4 separate regions of the Homo sapiens genome follow, and all the other regions are linked to region 2. The links are contacts of gene promoters, found by promoter capture Hi-C in blood cells and fetal thymus (Javierre and others, 2016). All regions are on one chromosome and are shown on one strand. The core of a region is centred on a gene start or on the middle of the fragment in contact, and the rest is flanking DNA. Distances in the headings are between cores, read along the strand shown. Region 1 overlaps SFI1 (SFI1 centrin binding protein). Region 2 holds the start of YWHAH (tyrosine 3-monooxygenase/tryptophan 5-monooxygenase activation protein eta). Region 3 overlaps SFI1 (SFI1 centrin binding protein). Region 4 overlaps RTCB (RNA 2',3'-cyclic phosphate and 5'-OH ligase).

Evidence for each region. Contacts are between HindIII fragments. The CHiCAGO score rates a contact against its expected background, and 5 or more counts as called.
Region 1: a contact is called between a fragment that was not itself captured here and the fragment with the promoter of YWHAH in region 2, in 1 of 17 cell types (endothelial precursors). The highest score is 7.8, in endothelial precursors.
Region 3: a fragment that was not itself captured here is called in contact with the fragment with the promoter of YWHAH in region 2 in 1 of 17 cell types (endothelial precursors); the score reaches 5.0 in endothelial precursors.
Region 4: a fragment that was not itself captured here is called in contact with the fragment with the promoter of YWHAH in region 2 in 2 of 17 cell types (monocytes and total B cells); the score reaches 5.6 in monocytes.

What each region holds. Positions count from the first base shown.
Region 1 is chr22:31,579,898-31,583,240 of GRCh38, reverse strand. SFI1 (SFI1 centrin binding protein) reads right to left here. Exons shown (of 33, transcript NM_001007467.3): 12 at 2,877-2,969. Among named protein-coding and RNA genes, the nearest start is that of MIR7109, 40 kb to the left of the region's middle. RefSeq lists an enhancer at 630-849 and a silencer at 3,064-3,343. The HindIII fragment of the contact is 1,989 bases long and covers 1,087-3,075 here.
Region 2 is chr22:31,942,998-31,946,443 of GRCh38, reverse strand. It overlaps YWHAH (tyrosine 3-monooxygenase/tryptophan 5-monooxygenase activation protein eta), which reads right to left and starts at 1,909. Exons shown (of 2, transcript NM_003405.4): 1 at 1,624-1,909. The coding sequence starts at 1,710. It overlaps YWHAH-AS1 (YWHAH antisense RNA 1), which reads left to right and starts at 1,078. Exons shown (of 3, transcript NR_171018.1): 1 at 1,078-1,211. LOC124900477 (a long non-coding RNA gene) reads right to left here and starts at 1,610. Exons shown (of 3, transcript XR_007068065.1): 1 at 1,209-1,610; 2 at 766-944. RefSeq lists enhancers at 939-988, 1,732-2,589, 2,590-3,446 and silencers at 1,309-1,648, 1,719-1,938, 1,949-2,038, 2,319-2,468. The HindIII fragment of the contact is 4,478 bases long and covers 1-3,446 here.
Region 3 is chr22:31,600,269-31,603,656 of GRCh38, reverse strand. It overlaps SFI1 (SFI1 centrin binding protein), which reads right to left. Exons shown (of 33, transcript NM_001007467.3): 16 at 1,364-1,445; 17 at 872-1,050. Among named protein-coding and RNA genes, the nearest start is that of MIR7109, 20 kb to the left of the region's middle. The HindIII fragment of the contact is 958 bases long and covers 917-1,874 here.
Region 4 is chr22:32,406,553-32,409,823 of GRCh38, reverse strand. RTCB (RNA 2',3'-cyclic phosphate and 5'-OH ligase) reads left to right here. Exons shown (of 12, transcript NM_014306.5): 2 at 991-1,069; 3 at 1,582-1,649; 4 at 3,063-3,162. Among named protein-coding and RNA genes, the nearest start is that of RTCB, 4.1 kb to the left of the region's middle. The HindIII fragment of the contact is 2,309 bases long and covers 656-2,964 here.

The DNA.
Region 1 (3,343 bases), core at 832-3,331, 360 kb after region 2:
TTGGGAGGCTGAGGCAGGAGAATCGCTTAAACCCGGGAGGTGGAGGTTGCAGTGAGCCGAGATGGCACCATTGCACTCCAGCCTGGGCAACAAGAGTGAAACTCCATCTCAAACAAACAAACAAACAAACAACAACAAAAAAAATTATACAAGGCTAGGCATGGTGGTATGCACCTGTAGTCCTAGCTCCTCAGGAGGTTGAGGCAGGATATTCTCTTGAGCCCAGGAGGATGAGGCTACGATGAGCTACAATCACACCATTGCACTCTAGCCTGGATGACAGAGTGAGACCCTGTCTCTAACAATAATTATTATAATAATAAATAAATTGTATAAACAAAATAACTGGCCTGTCCTTTTTTAAAAAAAGGCAGTCATTTTAAAAAGTATACATTATGCTAAGTGAAATAAGCCAGTTGCAAAAGGACAAATACTATATGATTCCACCTATGAGGTCTCTAGAATAATCTAATTTATAGAGACAGAAAGTAGAATGGTGGTTTCCAGGGGCTGAGGAAAGAGGAAATGGGTACAGAGTTTCAATTTTGCAAGATGAAAAAGTTCTAGAGATGAATAGTGATGATGATTGCACAATGTGGATGTACATGTCACTGAACTGTACACTTAAAAATGGTTAAGGTGATAAAGTTTAAGTGATGTATCTTTTACCACAATTAAAAAATATAATAGGCCGGGTGTCGTGGCTCACGCCTGTAATCCCAACACTTTGGGAGGCCGAGGTGGGAGGATCACCAAAGGTCAGGAGTTTGAGACCAGCCTGGCCAACACGGTGAAACCCCATCTCTACTAAAAATACAAAAATTGGCCAGGCGTGATGGTGTGCGTCTGTAGTCCCAGCTACCTGGGAGGCTGAGGCAGGAGAACAGTTTGAACACGGAAGGTGGAGGTTGCAGTGAGCCGAGATCAAGCTACTTACTGCACTCCAGCCTGGGCGAGAGCGAGACCCGGTTTCAAAAAAAAAAAAAAAAAAAAAAAAAAAAAAATATATATATATATATATATATATATATATAAAATGTAATAAAGAAGTGTTGTTGGGGGAAGGAAAGTTCTAGATTAAAAGCTTTAAGAAATATAGCAACAAAATCCATTTCTGCTAAAAATCAATCAGAAAAGAACCAAATGGAGTTAGTGATCCTTAACTGCATTCTGGTTTGTAAAAAGCAGCTACAAATAAGACATTTTTAAGACAACTATGGAAATTTGAATGTTGACTAGATATTAATGTTAGGGAATCACTGTTACTTTTCTTAGGGATGATAATGACATTGTCGTTACATAAGAAAATGTCTCTGAGTGACGCATGCTGAAATATTTAGGTGCAAAGTGTCATGATGTCTATAATTTACTTTGAAATTATTCAGCAAAAAACAATGAGGCAAACATAGCAAATATTAACAATTACTATATCCAGGTAGTGACTATATAGAGGCTTATTATACTTTTTTTTCCTATTTTTCTGTATGTTTAAACATTTTTCATAAAATAGTAACAGGGAAAAAAATCCTACACCAAGAAAGTAGAGACAATATATGTTGGCATCAAGTAAACAAACCATTGTTTTATAATGGACTTACAATGGAAGTGAATAGACTTACAATAGAAACACAACCAAAGCCTCCTATTGGGGCCGGGCATGGTGGCTCATGTCTGTAATCCCAGCACTTTAGGAGGCCGAGGCAGGTGGATTGCTTGAGGCCAGGAGTTTGCGACCAGCCCAACCAACATGGGGAAAAACCCGTCTCTACTAAAAATACAAAAAAATTAGCTGGGCTTGGTGGTGCACACCTGTGATCCCAGCTACTTGGGAGGCTGAGACATGAGAATCGCTTGAACTTGGGAGGTGGAGGTTGCAGTGAGTTGAGATCGCACCACTGCAGCTGCACACCAGCCTGGGCAACAGAGCAAGACCCTGTCTCAAAAAAAAAAAAAGTATATTTGGGCCAGGTGCGGTGGCTCACACCTGTAATCCCAGCACTTTGAGAGGCGAAGGTGGGCAGATCACTTGAGCCCAGGAGTTTGAGATCAGCCTAGGCAACATAGTAGGACCCCATCTACAAAAAATACAAAAATTAGCTGGGTGTGGTGGCTTACAGCTGTAGTCCCAACTACTTGGGAGGCTGAGGCAGGAGGATCACTTGAACCTGCAGTGATCTACTGCACTACAGCCTGGGTGACAGAACAAGACCCTGCCTCTAAATAAGTAAAGAAAAAAAGAAAGTATTTGTATCACTATATCCCCTAGGTCAGGTTTAAAATCCACAGTCCCTGAACTTTGAGTCAACTATCCATTTCTTGGCAAATAGATAAAAAAATGGGATCAAACAAGTTTTTCTATCAGCAGGTATGGATTACCAAAGAAAATGCAAACTAAAAAGGCCGAGCATGGTGACTCACGCCTGTAATCCCAGCACTTTGGGAGGCTGAGGCGGGTGGATCATCTGAAGTCAGGAGTTCGAGACAAGCCTGGCCAACATGGTGAAACCTCGTCTCTACTACAAATACAAAAATTAGGAAGGTGTAGTGGCGCATGCCTGTAATCCCAGCTACTCAAGAGGCTGAGGCAGGAGAATTGCTTGAACCCGGGAGGCGGAGGTTGCAGTGAGCTGAGATCGTGCCACTGTATTACAGTCTGGGCAATAGAGAAAGACTGTCTCAAAAAAAAAAAAAAAAAAAAGAAAAGAAAAGAAAGAAAGAAAATGCAAACTAAGGTTTTACAGTTGACAGTCTGGACAAATCTTGAAGCACAAAAAGTTTTTTTAAAAAGAGTTCTGCTTAATTTGGCAAGACTGAAAAAAAGAGCGAGAGAGAATGGCCTTCAGAAGAGGTCCCTTGATACAGAAGACAACCCTCACCGTGACACCATGCTGCTGGTGAGCAAGATTCCTTCTTATTTGCTGGAGATGAGCGTGGGTCACATTGTCTTTTAGGGCTCTAAAGCAAAAATACTGTGCAAAGAAAGGACACAACTGATTACAAGGACTGGGATCAGTAGAGTCTGTAAACTAAGAGTAGAGGAAGGCAAACAGTGCCTCAAATCAGCGGGGAGAAGCTTGGTCACAGCTTCTTGTAGCTGTTCCATCTCCCTGAGTGTTTCTCTGCTTTGAGATTCAACTGGGAGCCTAACACAAGCCAGCCTGCACAGCAGGCACTTAATAAATATTTGCTGAACCCTCCCTGCTGTCCATCTATACTGCACAAGAACAAACACACCCACACCAGGAAAGAACCCCATGACCCACATGACAATTCTACAGACCAAGGTAAACATCAACTGTTGCCTCTCAGGAGAAGACAGACTTTTTGTCTGTGGTGGTTTTTG
Region 2 (3,446 bases), core at 660-3,159:
CTGGGGAGGAGGGGCTTAAGTGTGACCTGCTGTGGACAGAGGCAGCTTTATCCCACAGAAAATTAAGGTTCAGGGTCCCTTCCAAGGAAATGCATTCGTCAGTCCCATTTTTGTAAAATATGCAAAACTATATTTTAGATTTTCTTTTAAAGGACCCCCTGAATTACATAAAGTTCAGCCTCCAGACCTAGACCGTCCCCCGGTCTGGAAGAAAACCTGCCTCACCACAACAGCATGCTAATAGTGCTCAAGTCAAGATCACCAACAAATCAACATACGGGCAACGGTGTTGCTGGTTTCCAAACACACCCAGTTATGTGTGTAACAAGGACACCAGAGGAAAGGCAACTCTTCAAGCACCTTTCTTACCTGAACAATCCTAAATATTGGCCCCAACTACATATTTCATCTGATATTAACATCAAAAGCCTTCAAATGAGCTTTCCAAATGACTTAAGATTTTAGGGAGCCTTTGTATTGGCAGTTTTTTTTCGGAACTCCCTCCAAAAGGCCAGCAAAGGATACATTTACTATAATCATGGGCAGTAATTCTCAGACTTAAGCCAGCTAAAAATCGCCTGTGAGAGCTGGTTACAATGCAGATGTCTGAGTCTCACCGCCCGAATTTCTGAATGTATAGGTCTAAGGCGGAGTTCAAGGGGATCCTCCCAGGTCTCAGGAGGTTGTACACTGAACATAGGTTGGTGGTCGCAGTTGTTCTACCACTGTGTGACCTTGACGCAGGGAGAGGAAATATTCATTTACAGAAAACGTAAAATAACGTGGAGAGAGAGTGAGATGGTAACCGGAACTCAGAAATGCAGGTGGTGTGTGACCCACGGTATTTTGCTAGGGTGTGGCTGGGCACGACTCATCCACCGGAGAAGCTGCAGAATCGATTTATGAGGGTCTCAGGAATGCAAAGACACACAGATTCGTCTCACCTAGAAGTCACGTTTCATTTTAATCTCCAAGCAGACAGCGCAGCAGCAAACCTGGGGCTGTGGAGTGGGGCCCCACACCCTCCGCCCACTCTCCCGCCCCCGTCCACGCCTAGACTGCAGGAAAGGGGTCTTCGCACACAAAGCCAGACCCCCAGGCGTGGGAAGATGGAACCAGAACAATTCGAACGAGCAGAGCAAAACAGATCGGAATTGCAGACTTCAGGTCGTGGCAGAGAAAACCAGCTGAGACAGGGCGCCACTTACTAGGTGATTCTTTATTCCAAGTTGGGGAACGGAGGAAGACGAGAGGGGGAGCCCCCGGGTCCGGTGAAACGCTCTAGGAGAAATGCGGCTCCTTCGCGTCCCCTAGGGCACCCTCTGCCCCCGGCCGGGTTCCGAACTAAGATGTGGCGACCCCGACCGGCCCGCCCCCCTTCCGGGGCTGCCTTCGCGATCCCGAACTGCACCCTCCCGGATCCCCCACCCTGGGCCCAGCCTCAGGAAGTGGCGGGGCGCCCAGCGGGAGCGGGAAGCGCGGGCTAAGGGCGGGCGGGCGGCCACGCCCAGCCGGGTCGCCGGGTCGCCCATGGCCGGGAGGGGAACGCGCCCGCGGCCATCCCCGTCCCTCCCCAACGCCAGGCCCCCCCCGGCCAGCCGCCCGGGCTCCCGGCGCGCTCACCGCCTTCATAGCGGAGGCCATGTCGTCGTAGCGCTCCGCCTGCTCGGCCAGCCGCGCCCGCTGCAGCAGCTGCTCCCGGTCCCCCATGTCGCTCGCGGCTCGGCCTCGCCTCGCGCCTCACACCGCTGGCTCGCTAGCCCTCCCGCCGGTCAGTCCGCTCCCCGGTCGCTGCGGAGGCCGCCGCCGCGCACGCGCACTGGCTCGCCGGCCGGCCGGAGGCTGCAGGCTGCAGGCTGCAGGCAGCGCCGCCGCTCGCGCCCTCTCGCTGGCTCGCCCCGCGCGCTGTGGCTCGCGCCGCGGACAACGCCGAGGGAGGAGACGCGGCCGCGCTGGGGGATGGGAGGACGGGACGACGCCTGCGCAGTGAGAGTGGCCAGGCCGGGCGGCGGGGAGCGGCGGGAGTGGGAGGGGGGAAGGGCGGGCCGGCCCTAACGGTCTATTTCAAGGTGACGTCACCTACTATAAATAGCCACCGCCGCCGCCGCCGCCCGGCCTGAAAGCCGCGCAGGCGCTCTGCGAGTGCTGCATTTTACCGCCGCAGAGATGGAGGTGGAGAAGGGAAAGCCGGGCAGGAGACTGCGGAGCCGGTGGAGGGGGCGCGGTGATGGCGGCTGCACAGGCAGTGCATTGTCATAGCCCCACCCTGAAACGCGCCACTCCATCCACGTTAGAGATCTGGCTTGAGAAGGGCCCCAAAAGCAAGCAAACATACTGGCGGAGAAGCCGGGAGACCGCGTGCCCCGAGGGGCGGGTCCGCCCAGCCCCGCCCCAGCCGTCCCGCCCGCCCCGAGCCCTGCCTGTCCATGCGTTCTGCTGGGCCACACCTTGTACTGGTCCGGGCAGGATCGAGTCCGACCCTCGGGGACAGCCCCGCTACACAGACACACACAATCGAACCCAACCTGAGACGTAGCCTTGGGCAGGCTGTGCCTTCCACCAGAGGAGGGGACTGGGTGGCCAGGGCGGGACAAGTAATATTCAGGACACATTAGGAGCCAGCCCAGTGCTAGTCCCGTACAAGCATCCTCCTCTTTAATCCTCACTACCCAGCCCACAGTGGGCACAGCTGGTCTCCCCATATTTAAAACGTGGAACCTGAGGAAAAGCGAGGTTAGTGACTTGCTCAGGGTTACGCAGCCTGTAAGTGGTGGGGCCAGGATCTGAGTCCAAACCCAGGCTGAACTTTCTCTTGTGGCAAAGAGCTGGGGTGGCCCAACTGGCTGGTCACTGAGCCCCTCCCAATCCTGGCTGGTATTGGATGCTGAGGGTCCCTTGTGCCAGGCCCTGGACTGGGCTGCCCGACAAGCTAGGAAAATGATGATTAAAACAAGGCCCCCACTTGATTTCAACACGCCAAGGGCAGTGCAGGAGAGGGGGCCTTGGGCTCGCTGAGAATTTTATTGAGCATCTACTGCATGCTCAGCCCACAGGGATAAGCTGGATCTTGAAGGAGAGTCAGGAAAAAGATTAAGGCCTGGGGTACAGCATTGGCAAAGGCTTGGCAGTGACCTGGGAGATGGTGAGAAGAGAGGCCTAAGAATGGGAAGTGAGGTTGGGTAAAACAAGATTACGGAGTCTTTTAAATGCCAGGCCAAAGATTTGAGGCTTCATCCTTAGGTAATTGGGAAGCCATATTTCAGGCCTGGAATCTTGCTCTAGAGAGTAAGACATGTTCGAAGGGAGAAGGGAGGGAACTGGAGACCAGGCCTTTTCTGGACCTGTTTTCCATCTGGAGAATTGGACTTAACTGTTTCAAGGACTTTAGAATAGATATCCACATGCTGAAATGTCAGAGCTGGCAGGACCCTTAGAATCACCCCTGT
Region 3 (3,388 bases), core at 146-2,645, 340 kb after region 2:
CCTGGTTAAGTTTTTGGGGGAGCCAAGACCCTCTCTGAAGAGCTGCCAAAGAACTTGCAGTCTCAGAAAAAAGCACCTATGATCAAATTTTGGCCTACAACTTCCCAGGGCTTCAGGTGCCATTGAAGCTCACATGTGCAGGTGTGAAGCCCCCAACTGAGAAACTGGTTAAACATGGTCAGTGTGCGACAGGGAGTGAGATCCTCAGAACACACAGTGGACACTGAAAGGCCCCAAAGCAGGACAGTCTCTATAGTGACTGGGCTGCCTCCCCTCCTCTCTCTTAACTACGTGGTGTGGTTAAAAACTGCCACAACCCACCCACTGGCCACAGCTGCTGTCCCTATCCCTTATCTGCAGCAGTCAGCTATCACAATATGGGCCCATCAGTTTATTCCCTGGCTATGGTCACTTTTGTTCGTTTGAGGCAGAGTCTCGCTCTGTTGCACAGGCTGGAGTGTAGCGGTGCCATCTCGGTTCACTGCAACCTTCACTTCCCGGGTTCATGCCAATTTCCGTGCTTCACTCTCCTGAGTAACTGGGATTACATGCTTGCGCCACCACGCCTGGCTAATTTTTGTATTATTAATAGAGAGGGTTTTCTCCATGTTGGTCAGGCTGGTCTCGAACTCCTGACCTCTGGTGATCTGCCCGCCTCAGCCTCCCAAAGTGCTGGGATTACAGGCGTGAGCCACTGTGCCCGGCCAACCTAGTTTTACTTAAGACTCTTTTAGGTTGAACTTCCAGAACTTACAACCAGAGTCTGGGGTAATGCAGTCCTCCAGACAGGCACTTGGAGCTCATGGTGCTGCTAGAACAAGCAAAGCTGGCCTGTGATGGAAAGGCTTGTAAGGCAGAACTGGCCACTCACTCTGTTCTGAGCCCTTGGGCACTTTCCCTCCAGAGGCAGAAAGCTTTCTTGAGCCGCCCGTGGCGGTGGTGGGCACAGGCCACTGTTTGCCACTCCTGCTCCTGGTGACGTGCTGCTGCCTGCTGGTGCCACATGAACCAAGACCTATACAGAAGCTGTCGCTCTGCGTGAAGGATGGCCTGAGGCAGGACAGGAAGGAGAGAACAGAATAAATCAAGTAGGAGAGAGGCACAGAAGCCAGGAAAGAATTTACAGGCCACAAATAATGACTAAGGCAAAAGGAATGGATGTCAGGACGTGGTCCAGCCCAGAAGCTGTCTGTAGGCTCCACTGAGAAAGGACAGATGCCCCAGAGCCTGCCCTGCCTCAACAGTCACAGGCAGGGGCCCTCCAGTGAGGTCCGAGCAACTTCCTGAGGAGGGGAGGCCGTGAGTGCAATGGCTTGAATCAGATCCTGCCCCTCCACACATCTCCTCAGGGACAGCCATTTACCATTCTCTCTGCCAGGCGGTTTTCTCGATGCTGAAACATCTTCTGCCTCCAGAGAGAAAATACTTGCTTCTCTAATGTCTCCCTAAAAAACAAGGAAGAATGTAAAGCACTTAAAACAAACATAAAAATTAACCCAAACAGAACTAGAAGTTCCAAATAATTGGATTTTTCCTTTTATACCATGCTATCGTATAAGAGGTGAATTAAGTGGCTGGGCACAGTGGCCCATGTCTGCAATCCTAATACTTTGGGAGGCCAAGGCAGGAGGATCGCTGGAGGCCAAGACCAGCCTGGGCAACATAGCAAAACTCCATCTCTACAAAAAAATTTTAAAATTGCTGGGTGTGATGGTGTGTGCCTGTAGTACCAACTACCTGGGAGGCTGAGGTGGGGGGATCGCCTGAGCCCAGGAGTTTGAGGCTGTGGTGAACTATGATCACGCCACTCCACTCCAGCCTGGGCAACAGAGTGAGACCCCGTCTCTGAAAAAAATAAAAGAGGTGAATAAGCTTAGATGAGGGAGAAAGCAACACAAAGAGAAAGGGAAGGAAAGCAGACAGCCAAAAAACCATAAACTGTTAAAAAGGCCAACATTTTCCAGGTTGTTTCTGGTATCAGCCAAGCCTTCACACCGTACGAAAAAGACTCAGACCCTGAGACCCCAGGTCTTCATTAATTCTATATTGACTTAACAGCACTGATAAAGGATTGTTCATGAGAGCCCTTTCCAGTGCATGCTGACCAACGCTTTGGGGACCTGTTGAAAAACAAGGGGCAGACCCCTAAGGCTGACTGAGCAAGTCTGAGGGGGGGTCCCAGGAAATAGTATTTTAAACAAGTATTTCAGGTGAATTAGAAAAGTAGAAAGGTTGGCCGGGCATAGTGGCTCACGCCTGTAATCCCAGCACTTTGGGAGGCCGAGGTGGGCGGATCATGAGGTCAGGAGATCGAGACCATCCTGCCTAACACGGTGAAACCCCATCTCTACTAAAAATATAAAAAATTAGCTGGGCCTGGTGGTGGGCGCCTGTAGTCCCAGCTACTTGGGAGGCTGAGGCAGGAGAATGACATGAACCCGGGAGGCGGAGCTTGCAGTGAGCCGAGATCGTGCCACTGCACTCCAGCCTGGGCCACAGAGGTTGCAAAAAAAAAAAAAAAAAAAAAAGTAAAGAAAAGTAAAAAGGTTTGGGAACCACTGTTTTGTCATCTCTGCCTAGGCCTACAGATCACCATTAACAACATCAAATCCTGCAGCAGCAGTGCTGGGACAATTGACCAACAGCCACTAGGGGCTACATGTTGGTGAAGCCACAGGATCCATGTTCAGCACTGGGGGATCTTGCTCCCCTGACATTTAACACGCAAGACACATCACTTAAAGCAAAGATTCCACTTCTAGTCAGAACACAGTCACTGGTCCTGGATCTGCCCTCTGGCCATATATGACAAAACTAGACAAAATACATATGGCAACTGTCTTCAGGCGCTGGACAGTAAGTGTAGATTCTGATGCTGAAAAGATAGGACACGGGCGAGGTGAGCCCCTAGGCCGCCCAGACTTTCTGCCTGGGGGCACCTTCTAAACAGTGAGGGGAAGGGAGGCTAAGCAGAGCCTCCCTCAGTCTCAGTGAGCTGAGGAGGCAAAGACTGGAGTTCATGACTGCCAGAGGGGCTGGAATTTGGGGTCAGGGTACTAGAAAGGAGACAGCTGAACAGAGGGAAATACCCAAAATTTTACTGAGGTTGTCCCAGGTCCTCAGATGAGGGCCTGGAGGCCTAGCAGAGAGTGACTGCTGCAGGGCCAAGAGGGGAACAGAGACAGCAGAAGCTGGACAGGGTTGAAAGACGGAGCTCTGGCCCAGCCAGAGGGCAGAGACCAGACACAAAAGCTGAGATCGTTCAACCCCAGTTGACCTTAGTATAAAAACACTAAAAGATCATCTTTAGGCTGAAGGGAAATGATACAGATGAACATTCAAATGTACAGGAAGACACAAGGAACACTGGAAAGGGAAAATATGTGGG
Region 4 (3,271 bases), core at 561-3,060, 460 kb before region 2:
CAAAAGTATATAAGAGCTGTATTGTGTACTGGGAGCTCCTTGAAAGGAAGATCTTATATTCTTTCTATCTCCCCTAGTGCCCAGGACAGTGCTTCATGCATAGTAAATCCTCAGTTAATGTTTGGTGAATTAATAAATGTGACCCTTAAGAAATTATACTGGAAATATTTTCCATCAGTGGGTATTAAATTGTTATTTATGCAATGGTGATGAAGTCATCTTTCTGATAAAAACTACATTCAATTGATTAAGTGTTAAATCTTTGGTTCTCCATTACTGGACAGCTCTTTCACAATATTTGACCTGTGATAAAAATGTTCTGCTCTTTAGTGTTACATAAGTATGTCGTCCATTGCCTTCTGTGTGCTGCCTCTATTGTCAAGCTTTAAAATTATAGATTTTTTAAAAAATTATATAGCTTTCAGAACTGAGCACACAACTACGTAGCTGCATGTTAAATTTTTCTTCTCACTATTTACCTAACTAGAGATTTGTAAGTCACCACTAGAGCACAATAAAATGTAATTTGCTATTGGCTTAAACACAGAATAAACATACTAGGTTAGATGACTACGTTTTATGTTTAGAATTGGACTTTTTGATTCATTTGGTTTTTTTTTTTAATTTTCAAAAAACCATTGATATTTTTGAAGCTTGAGGATTAAGACCTTTGGGCTTTGTGAGAGTATAGTTGGAAGATTTTTCTTTATCACAAAAAGATGCTGAATCTGTTGAATTCTTAAATGTGGTTTTGAGGGTATGAGAATAAACAAAACAATTTGTGAACATTGCAGAATTTTTCTTAAGGTATATTTTCCGATGGGAGCAGCTCGTAGTCTTTGATAGGAAGTTTTCTGTGTGCTTAAGGTAACGTGAAAGTGTTTGGTAAAGAGTAAAGCACAGTAAATATTGCATACAGTGCATTCTGTCCAGTGCCTACACTTGCCGCGCATGTACTCAGACATTGCTTTTCACTTTCCTTGGTACTAGGTTGAAGGTGTTTTCTATGTGAATGATGCTCTGGAGAAATTGATGTTTGAGGAATTAAGGAATGCCTGTCGAGGTGGTGGTAAGTACATTAGAGTTTCACTTGTGTTAGTACGGTAGTGCCTTCCCTGTGGCCTGAAAAAGTGGCAACTCAAATAATTATAATTCTGAAATATTGTCAAGGAGTGATTACAACTTAAAAGTAAGACCAAAAGCACTTACTTATTTGTGATCACATTGTCAGCCAGTTGGCGTTATAGAACGGATTTGAAGCTCCATCTGGAATTTGAAGCTGGGTAGAACTTGTTTCTCAGCTAACCTTGAACAATAATAGCAAGTGACCTACCATTTGTTTTGCACTTACTATATTCCAGGCATGTTACTAGGTGCTTTGCAGAGATTATCTCATGCAATACTTACAGTGACTCTAAAAGGAGCTCCCTTCCATCTTGCATCTCAAACATCCTTCTAGGCTTTGTTGTCTTAGTAGCCCTAATGACTACCTCTTCACGTTATACAGTCTAAAAACATGAATATAATTCATGCTAAAAATCAAGTGTGTTGTCTTTTCTAATACCCAATTTTTGTCTTCAGGTGTTGGTGGCTTCCTGCCAGCCATGAAACAGATTGGCAATGTGGCAGCCCTGCCTGGAATTGTTCATGTGAGTCAGAGTTCAGAACTTTAATCATTTATATTTCTTAAAGTCCATTGAATGGATGAATGGCCATGCCTGATAGTGGTGTCATTTAGACAATGACCTTTGGACAGCCAGACATAACCATGAAGCCAGGCTCAGTGGCTCATGCCACCCGCAACACTTTGAGAGACCAAGATGGAAGGATTGCATGAGCCCAGGAATTCAAGACTAGTCTGGGCAACATGGCAAGACCCTGTCTATACCAAAAAAATTAGTCAGGTGTGATGTCACATGCTTGTTGTCCCAGCTACTTAGAATGCTAAGTGGGAGGATTGCTTGAGCCCAGAGTTCCACACTGCACTGAGCCATGATCACGCCACTGCACTTTTAGCGTGGATGGCAGAGTGAGACCCTGTCCCTAAAAATAAAAAATAAAAGGAAATAACCATGGACCTAAAGAAATAATTGAATCTGGATGGTATTTCAGTTTCTGAATGCATTTGGCTAGAATCTGTAAGTGTTAAGAACCTTCGAAGTAGTTTTTGTGTTTTGTTTCTTATCATGGTAACATTATTCCTGGATCAGTGCACCACCATTGTAAGTTTCATTGTAAGTTTCACTTCACTGTTTCAATGTAAGTTTCATTGTAAGTTTCGCTTGGTTGTAAGTTTCACTTCCTATGCAGAGGATCATTGAAGAAGAAATGGCAAGAAGTTTAAGGGTTAGCACTGAGGGGGAGGAAGAGAGGACAGCATAGCCCCCACCACAGTTTAACATTCATATTCTATCAGAGGTAGATGTTGAAAATGGATCTATTCGGCAGACATTTTTGAGGTCTTCTTTATGCCAGTTACCATGTTGGGCACTTGGTAGAGGGAATGAAATGGTATGGCTTGTGTATATAAGGAAGTTGTTAGTGTCTGGGTATCTCCATATATCCTGTGTTTGACCTGCATTCTTCCTGGGTCAGGGTCCTTTTCTAGGCTCCACATGTAGGAAGTCTACAGTATTTATACCATCAAATGGATTACATTTGGCTGTGATTACTTAAACTAATGACCTATATAAATCAGTTATTTTCCTCTTCTTAACCTGACAAACCAAAGTTTGTCAGTGTCTTAAGATTATTTTTAAAATGTAATAGTACATTAAACTTAGTATGTGTTACTCCTATATCATGTTATTTTGAGGCTTTTCTGTTTTGTATTTCCTTAATTAACATTCAGATCTTATAAAAAAGTTTTTTTCTCACTGTATTTAGCTTTGTGATTAGGAGTTCTTACTATTTCCATGCATATAGAAGATTTTGTGAAAACACAGTCTTGATTTAGGGAAAGCTTCAGCCTGCAACCTGTTTGAGAATCAGTGTCAGGTCCATCAGGGCATCCAGGGTAGCAGGTCAAGACACTTGTATTTCATTTTCTAATTCTTTTTCAGCGATCTATTGGGCTTCCTGATGTCCATTCAGGATATGGGTTTGCTATTGGGAACATGGCAGCCTTTGATATGAATGACCCTGAAGCAGTAGTATCCCCAGGTAAGATCACTGTGGACATCTGCTGTTAAGTGTGTAGCATTGGCCGGGCACGGTGGCTCACGTCTGTAATCCCAGCACTTTGGGAGGCCGAGGCGGGTGGATCATGAGG